Regions from separate parts of the Homo sapiens genome. Here region 1 is linked to region 2. Evidence: promoter capture Hi-C in 16 types of primary human blood cells and fetal thymus (Javierre and others, 2016). All regions are on one chromosome and are shown on one strand. Each heading gives the region's core, a stretch centred on a gene start or on the middle of the fragment in contact. The rest is flanking DNA. Distances are from core to core; before and after follow the strand shown.

What was found. Contacts are between HindIII fragments. The CHiCAGO score rates a contact against its expected background, and 5 or more counts as called.
Region 1: a contact is called between a fragment that was not itself captured here and the fragment with the promoter of ILF2 in region 2, in 10 of 17 cell types (endothelial precursors, M0 macrophages, M2 macrophages and 7 more). The highest score is 9.8, in endothelial precursors.

Annotation. Positions count from the first base shown.
Region 1 is chr1:153,777,914-153,781,717 of GRCh38, reverse strand. SLC27A3 (solute carrier family 27 member 3) reads right to left here. Exons shown (of 10, transcript NM_024330.4): 5 at 3,363-3,557; 6 at 3,165-3,255; 7 at 2,833-3,031; 8 at 2,507-2,604; 9 at 2,245-2,375; 10 at 1,561-1,892. The coding sequence ends at 1,716. Among named protein-coding and RNA genes, the nearest start is that of SLC27A3, 4.4 kb to the right of the region's middle. The HindIII fragment of the contact is 1,934 bases long and covers 846-2,779 here.
Region 2 is chr1:153,669,108-153,673,034 of GRCh38, reverse strand. ILF2 (interleukin enhancer binding factor 2) reads left to right here and starts at 2,042. Exons shown (of 14, transcript NM_004515.4): 1 at 2,042-2,117; 2 at 2,805-2,864; 3 at 3,157-3,199. The coding sequence starts at 2,113. TRX-CAT1-1 (tRNA-iMet (anticodon CAT) 1-1) reads right to left here and starts at 1,785; the gene lies at 1,714-1,785. RefSeq lists enhancers at 773-822, 833-912, 1,463-1,602 and a silencer at 1,643-2,022. The HindIII fragment of the contact is 12,664 bases long and covers 1-3,927 here.

The sequences.
Region 1 (3,804 bases), core at 563-3,062, 110 kb before region 2:
CACATGTAATTCTAAATATTCTAGTAGCTACACTTTAAAAAGCAAAAATAGGCCGGGCACCTGTAATCCCAGTACTTTGAGAGGCTGAGGCGGGCAGATCACGAGGTCAGGAGTTCGAGACCAGCCTGGCCAACATGGTGAAACCCGGTCTCTACTAAAGATAGAAAAAAAAATTAGCCGGATGTGGTGGCGTGTGCCTGCAATCCCAGCTACTCGGGAGGCTGAGGCAGGAGAATTGCTTGAACCTGGGAGGTAGAGGTTGCAGTGAGCCGAGATTGCACCATTGCACTCCAGCCTGGGCTACAGGGCGAGACTCCGTCTCCAGAAAAAAAAAAAGCTTGGTGTGAGGTTCTACGATGGGGGAGGTGGCCACTCAGCTCGCAGGTCTGGGAAATCTGGGCTGAGTTAAGGTGTGGGAGAGCAGCTGCAGGAGGTGCCCCACTGCCAGCCAACACAGGCTGCCTACCCGCCCTACCCCCAGGCACACCCAAACTATTGTACTCCTCCTGGGGCAGATTGGAGAGGTGCACAGAATGAGTTAAGTTCCACATTTATTGGTCTACGCATGAAGTTTTCCCCTGCACCTTAGCGTGTGCCTTACCTAGTCTGTCAGTGAGGCTGCACCGGGCTTGCTGGTGGAAGGGGGCAAGTTGTAAAGTTTTGGAACAGGAGGGCCCGCAATAGAGACCCAAGTGTGCCAGTAGGGCATGTCCCCTGACCTCTCATGTTGGGGAGAGGGGCTAGAAGGGGAAAGGCAAAGTAGCATAAAATTTCAAGGACCCACAGCTCAAAACAGAGGGGGACTGTAGTTCCTAGGAGAAGCAGGAGCTTCATCATTTCAAGCTTTTAGATGATGAACTTTCTGGACACCTCATTTGGGGATCGAGAGGCCTTTGTCCTTTTGATTCCCACCATCCCTCCTGCCACCACATGCACTCTGAGCCTCACTCCATGGAGGGGCTTCCGTCAAACTCTCCTGCAGTACCGGAGGGTCCCCCCTGGGGACTGCTCCTTCTGGGAATGTCTGACAGTCACCAGGTAGGAGTAGGAACATCTGGAGGCAGGGGCACCCCACTCTTCCCCCTCAAAGATTGGCTTCTCAGAGACAGCTGCGAGGCAGAGGGATATCTTGAGCATCCTTTCCCCCACAGTCAAACACTTGTTTGGGCTGGTTAAGACTCTTCCCCAGGCCCGGCCACACCTGATTCTGGGGGAGCAGTTTGGGCTGGCTGCCGGAGGTGGCATTTCTGTGTGCTTCTGTCCACCTCTGCCCTTTGAGCCGACCCCTCGGGTCCTCCAGTTCCCAAGACAGAGCAGTGGGAGCCTGGCACTCGGAGAGTAAAACTGGGGCGAGCTACACAGGAGCACAGACAAACATCAGTCACCAGAGGTTCTCCAAGGACGAAGGTCACACAGGGTCTCCTGAGAGGAAAACACCAAGGTCCAGATACGGGGCTCTGGCCCACAGCCAGTCAGGGCAGGAATGTGGGGCCTGTGGCTCCACGCCAGGAGAAAACTCTCAAGGAAAAAGCAGTTCCACAGAGAGATAATGACAGATACTGTAGGTCAGAGACAGCTGGATCAGCTCCAGCCACATTTATTACAAAATAGTGACCGCAGTTCTGGTATAGAAAAGATCCCTGACAGCCCAGTACACCTGCAACGGCCCCCACCCCACAGAGTTCCTCTCTCAGGTGCCTCAGGTGTGGAAGTTCTCAGATTCGAAGGTTTCCTGCCAGGAGGGCGCTGTACCGGGCAGTTGTGAGGGGCAGGTAGGCACCTACAGCCTGGTCCAGAACGTACAGTGGGTCAGACAGGGTGCTGGGGTCGAAGCCCTCATTTGCCATCCGAACTTTCTGCTGTTTGAAGGTCTCTGTGGTGGCCAAAGACTCCTGGGGACAGGAGGGTCAGGGATTTGGAGGGAAGGGGACTCTGCCCACGTGGTTCAGGGGAGTTGCCTGAATTTTGTTAAGGAGCAAGTCTTGGGAAAGGGAGTGTGAGGTCAAGGTTTAGGGGAGGAGGTGACAGGGAGGAGAAAGAGCCAGGCCAGAAGAAGGCAGGGATAAGGAAAGAAGTGGGGTGAAGAGCTTGTGTCTCCGTGTTTTTTCTCTTCACGGAGTGTATTACGTTGGGGGTCCCTTTGTGGAGTTTGGGAGCCATCAAACTCCTAAGTTGATACACGGGGTGGATATGTGGGGTGAGGATATATGGGGTGAGGGGCCGGCGGGGGAAGTGGCCGGTTACCTGGAGCCTGAGGAATCGGGGCCGGGCATAAGGTGGCAAGTTCTCAGACACGTGGGTGTAGAGCTGCATAAGGTCCAAAGCGTGGGGGGGACGCAGAACTAGGGCTGCCATTCCAGCCCTGCCTTCATGCCCTGGTGGGTGTGGGAGACAGAGTAAGCCCCTCCATGGCTGACCACCACGAAGGCCTCGTGCTCCCTGCGCCCAAGTACTACCAATTCGGGGTGGTGGCTGGGTGCCTCCCCCACCTTCCATGCCTAGGCACCTGGCACAGTGACTCCATAGACGTTCACCTCCTGAAGAAAATCTAGGGCCTCGAAGACCTCTGCCACCTCGGTTGTGGCCACATTCTCCCCCTTCCACCTGTCAGAGAGCAGAGATCTGAAACTGGGAGTCAGGGGTCAGGGCCTTATGGGCTTGGTGGGGAGATGAGGTCAGAGGTCAGTGTCACAGGGATGAAATGGTGAGATCTGAGAATGAGAGATTAGCTTAGGACCCAGGTTGAGGTGGCAGATTAGAGAGTTGAGGTTCAGAAGCTTTGGATCACAGAGATCAGATGTCCAGGATGAAAAACCAGTTATGGACAGATACCTGAAGGTGTCTCCAGTACGATCATGGAAGCGGAGAAAACCTTGGTCATCGCAGACCAGCAGGTCCCCAGTGTTGAAGAAAACATCCCCAGGCCGGAAGACATCCTTTAGCAACTTCCCCTGGGCCAGCTCTGGCCCGCCAGCATAGCCCAGGAATGGGGACTGCTGGCTTACCGGGGCCACCAGCAGCCCTGGCTCACCTGGCAGAGTCACCAGGGTCAGGAGTGGTGTCACCTTTCCCAGAGCCTTCTGCCCCCATCCACCCCAGTCTCCAATTCCAGTCCTCCTGTGCCAGCTTCAGCACCCCGCCCACCCCACCAGAACACCACCAACCTGGAGATGTGGCCATACAGTGCCCCTGGGGGTCCCGAATTGGCTCTCCTGTGGTGACATCATAGCGAATCAAGGAGAAGGGGAAGATATGCTGGGGAAAGGGAGACCTGGGTACTGGATCATTGCAGTCACATGAGCCCCCTCTCCTGCCAGCCCTCTGCTGTTCCACGGGTTTTCAGTTTCCTCTCTGCCCCTCACCTTGTAAAGCCAGGAAGCACGCCCCACAGCGCCCCGCTGTCCTGTGTAGTTGATGGTGGCCACGTTGCCCTCTGTCAGTCCATATGTCTCCAGCACCTGCAGGGGCCCGAAGCGCCGCACAAAACGCTCCCAGGTATCTGGGCGCAGCCCGCTGCCCACTGCCAGCCGGACCTTATGGCCACGTTCTGCCTTGCTCTGAGATGAGTGGGAGAGGGGCCGGAGCTTCAGCATCAAGATGCCCGCTCCCGGAAGTGAATTCCTGTTCCCCATTCCCCAGAACCCCCTCCTACTGTGACCTCCTTCAGAGGCCGTAAGCATCAGATGGCCTAGGCCATCTCTGGCTCCTTATCTTACACTGCCATTTTCTTCTTGCTGCTTCTCCCTCCAACTCCCTGTCTCCTGTCAACTGTCCTGCTCCCCGTGAGCTAGCCCTGTGTCAGCA
Region 2 (3,927 bases), core at 793-3,292:
GTACCCCATCTCTACAAAAATAAATAAATAAGTAAGCCCGGGGCCAAAGGAGGTGGCTCACACCTGTAATCCCAGCACTTTAGGAGACAGAGGCAGGAGGATCACCTGAGGTCAGGAGTTTGAGACCAGTCTGGCCAACATGGTGAAACCCCATGTCTACTAAAAATACAAAAATTAGCTGGGCAGGGCCGGGCATGGTGGCTCACGTCTGTAATCCCAGCACTTTGGGAGGCCGAGGCGGGCAGATCACTAGATCAAGAGATGGTGACCATCCTCGCTAACACCGCGAAACCCCGTCTCTACTAAAAATACAAAAAAAAAAAAATTAGCTGGGCGTGGTGGCGGGCGCCTGTAGTCCCAGCTACTCGGGAGGCTGAGGCAGGAGAATCGCTTGAACCGGGGAGGCGGAGGTTGCAGTGAGCTGAAATAGCGCCACTGCACTGCAGCCTGGGAGACTCCATCTCAAAAAAAAAAATAAAATTAGCTCGGAGTGGTGTGGCCTGTGCCTTTGAGTAGTCCCAACTACTAGGGAGGCCGAAATGGGAGAGTCTCTTGAGGCCAGGAGGTTGAGGCTGCAGTGAGCTATGATGGTGCACCACTGCACTCCAGCCTGGGCAACAGAGTGAGACCCTGTGTCTAAATAAAATGAAATAATAGAAGAGAGGGTAAGAGACAAAGAGATTACTGGGGGAAAAGTCTAACCCGTCTTTATTTGGAGTTCAGGAACGAGGGAAATAATAGGTAAAACTAATACTTGAAGAGATAATAGCTGATAAATTTAATAAATGGACGACAAACCTGAAGCCATTGATTCAAGAAGCTCAACAAACCTCAAGTAAGATTTTTTTTTTTTTAAACGGAGTCTCCCTCTATCGCCCAGGCTGGGGTGCAGTGGCGCCATCTCAGCTCACTGCAACCTCCGCCTCCCGGATTCAAGAGATTCTCCTGCCTCAGCCTCCTGAGTAACTGGAATTACAGGCGCCCGCCAGCACGCCGGCTAATTTTTGTATTTTTAGTAGAGACGGAGTTTCACCATGTTGGCCAGGCTGATCTCGAACTCCTGACCTCGGGTGATCCACCCGTCTCGGCCTCCCACAGTGCTGGGTGGCCACAAGCCACCGCACTCGGTCCGCTTTTTGTTTGCTTGTTTTTTAAAAATTAATAATATTTATTTTAATCTGGATGGTGGTTACGTGGCCAGAATACGTTTAGACTTAAGATGTTTACGTTCTGCTGTAGTAAATTAAATATCGAAAAAGTACTTATGGAAGGGAGGTAGGTGAGGGATAAAAGTCTACAAGTTGGGTTCAGTGTATACTGCTCGGGTGATGAGTGCACCAAAATCTCACAAATCACCACTAAAGAATTTATGTAACCAAGCTGGGCGCTGTGGCTCACGCCGGTAATCCCAGCACTTTCGGAAGCTGAGGCGGGTGGATCACCTGTTTCCATGGACATGGAAAACCATGTTTTCCACACTAATTCAATCAATATACTCCTCTCCTATCTAAAACCTGTTTCTCCTGCTTCGAGTTTGTAGACGTGCAGTGTTCATAGTTGCCTAAACTCCCTTTTCCCCATCAACTTCAACTGCTAGTGGCAAAAATAGCTGATATTGGTTGCATTTTTGAGGTAGGAAAATTGGCAAGATATTTTCCTTCACTAAAGAAACGTAGATTACGTATGCCGTACAGGGCAATGAAAAAACTCCGATAGCAGAGGATGGTTTCGATCCATCGACCTCTGGGTTATGGGCCCAGCACGCTTCCGCTGCGCCACTCTGCTATCTAGAACTAAAATTTCTCATGATTGTTATAGAACACTACGTAGTCGTTGTCCTGACTTCTTTAGTGCCACCTAATGTCTGATCAAAAATTCGTCATTACTATAGAACCAGTTCTTATTGGCTAGTTCCTGACACAGTAGGCGTTTTTTATTGGTTCATAAGCCCGGTTTGACAAAGTAAGCCAATAGGCATAAGCGATGGGGTAAGGCGGGAGCCAATCGCACCGGGTTTTATTGGGACACGCCGGCAAGACGCCTCTTCAGTTGTCTGCTACTCAGAGGAAGGGGCGGTTGGTGCGGCCTCCATTGTTCGTGTTTTAAGGCGCCATGAGGTAAGTGGGTCGAAGCGGTCGAAAGGTTTCAGGTATTCGACGGAAAACTTTGTGAACGTGGGCCGAAAGAAGTCGGAGTATCAGAAAGGGCCATGTATCCGGGGGCTGGCCAAAAACCTGAGAACTCCTGGTCTAGGATAGTGGGAGAGATGGAGGCCGGTAGAGGCGGGGAAACTTGGGCCCGGGATGGGGTTCGGGCCCAGGAGTGGGGAGGGGGGTTCGACACCTTTGTCTCTGAAGGGTTGCGATGAGGGGGTGTCCTCAAGCCCCTGGAGGAGCTCCCCACCTTTCCCCCGCCCCCGTCATCCGGGCTGAGAATGCTGGAGCGAGCCGCATTCATCCTCAGTGCGAAGGCCTTGACATTAGGACACGCCCGATAAATGTGTACCTTAGTGAAGAAATGAGCAATCTTTAGCCTCCGAAGTATTAGGATTCGTGTGGCCCAGGATTATGGGTTATTAAGTGTAGGGCTCACTGAGCCCCATCATTACTTGATGGGGGTTGGATTAACTTAGAGGAGGTTATGGGGGTGTAACTGGGCACCATTTGGAATGGGGACAAGTGTAAGTGTGAGTGGGGTCTCTTGCCTACCGTTGGGAGGTTCCGAGGGATGAAAGTAGCCAACCTAAGATGATATGGCCGGTGGGTATTCCTTCAATGAGGTCAAAATAAAATCTGCATTTCTAGGGGTGACAGAGGCCGTGGTCGTGGTGGGCGCTTTGGTTCCAGAGGAGGCCCAGGAGGAGGGTGAGTACCAGCTTTTAGCATCTCTGCACTTGGTTGTTAGTTTCTGCTTGTCATCTAAATAGGAGTTTTAGAGTAGACTAATGTCACTTGGTTTTGCGAGAGCCAACTGTGGTCTTTTCCTGCACTCCTGTTAAATGAATTTGGCCCCACTATGCTAAGAATGATTCTTTCCCTCCCCGGAGACTTTGTCACTCATTCTGAGGACTGACATGTTTTCAAAATTGTTGGCGTGTTATTTACATCTCGCTTGATTCCTACCTAGGGAATAATTTGGCTGTTTTTCATGTTTTAGGTTCAGGCCCTTTGTACCACATATCCCATTTGACTTCTATTTGGTGAGTACCTTGGGTTAATGATACACATTTTCTGGTCACTGTTGAAATGGAGCCCAGTATCTCCCAGTTAATGAAGTTAGATGGTGGTTGAAGAGGGCAGACACAGTGCCTCACGCCTGTAATCTCAGCACTTTGGGAGGCCGAGGCAGATGGATTACCTGAAGGTCAGGAGTTTGAGACTAGCCTGGCCAATATGGTGAAACCCCGTCTCTACTAAAAATAAAAAAGTTGGCTGGGCATGTGTCTAATCCCAGCTACTTGGGAGGCTGAAGCAGGAGAATTGCTTGAACCCGGGACGCGGAGGTTGCAGTGAACCAAGATGGCACCACTACAAAAAAAAAAAGATGGTTGAAATAGGGAGGGAAAGTGATTTGTGAAAAGATTTGGGGTTTTGAGTCAACTGTGTGTTGCTTTACATACAGAAACAGTGTAAGCATGGTGGGGAGAATAATTCCTTGGCTACTGTTGGCATTAAACATGATTATAATCTTTGTTCTGAACAAGTAATTGTATTTATGGTATATCTGTTACTATAAAGATAGTGATAGCTTAAATTATGGCTATTCCAGCTTTTATCCTTGTTTGAACTTTTTATTTTTTTTGAGACAGTCTCACTCTGTCACCCAGGCTGGAGTGCAGTGGTGCAATCTTGGCTCACTGCACTGAACCTGGGAGGCAGAGGAATCAGGACCTCTGCCTCCAGGGTTCAAACGATTCTCCTGCCTCAG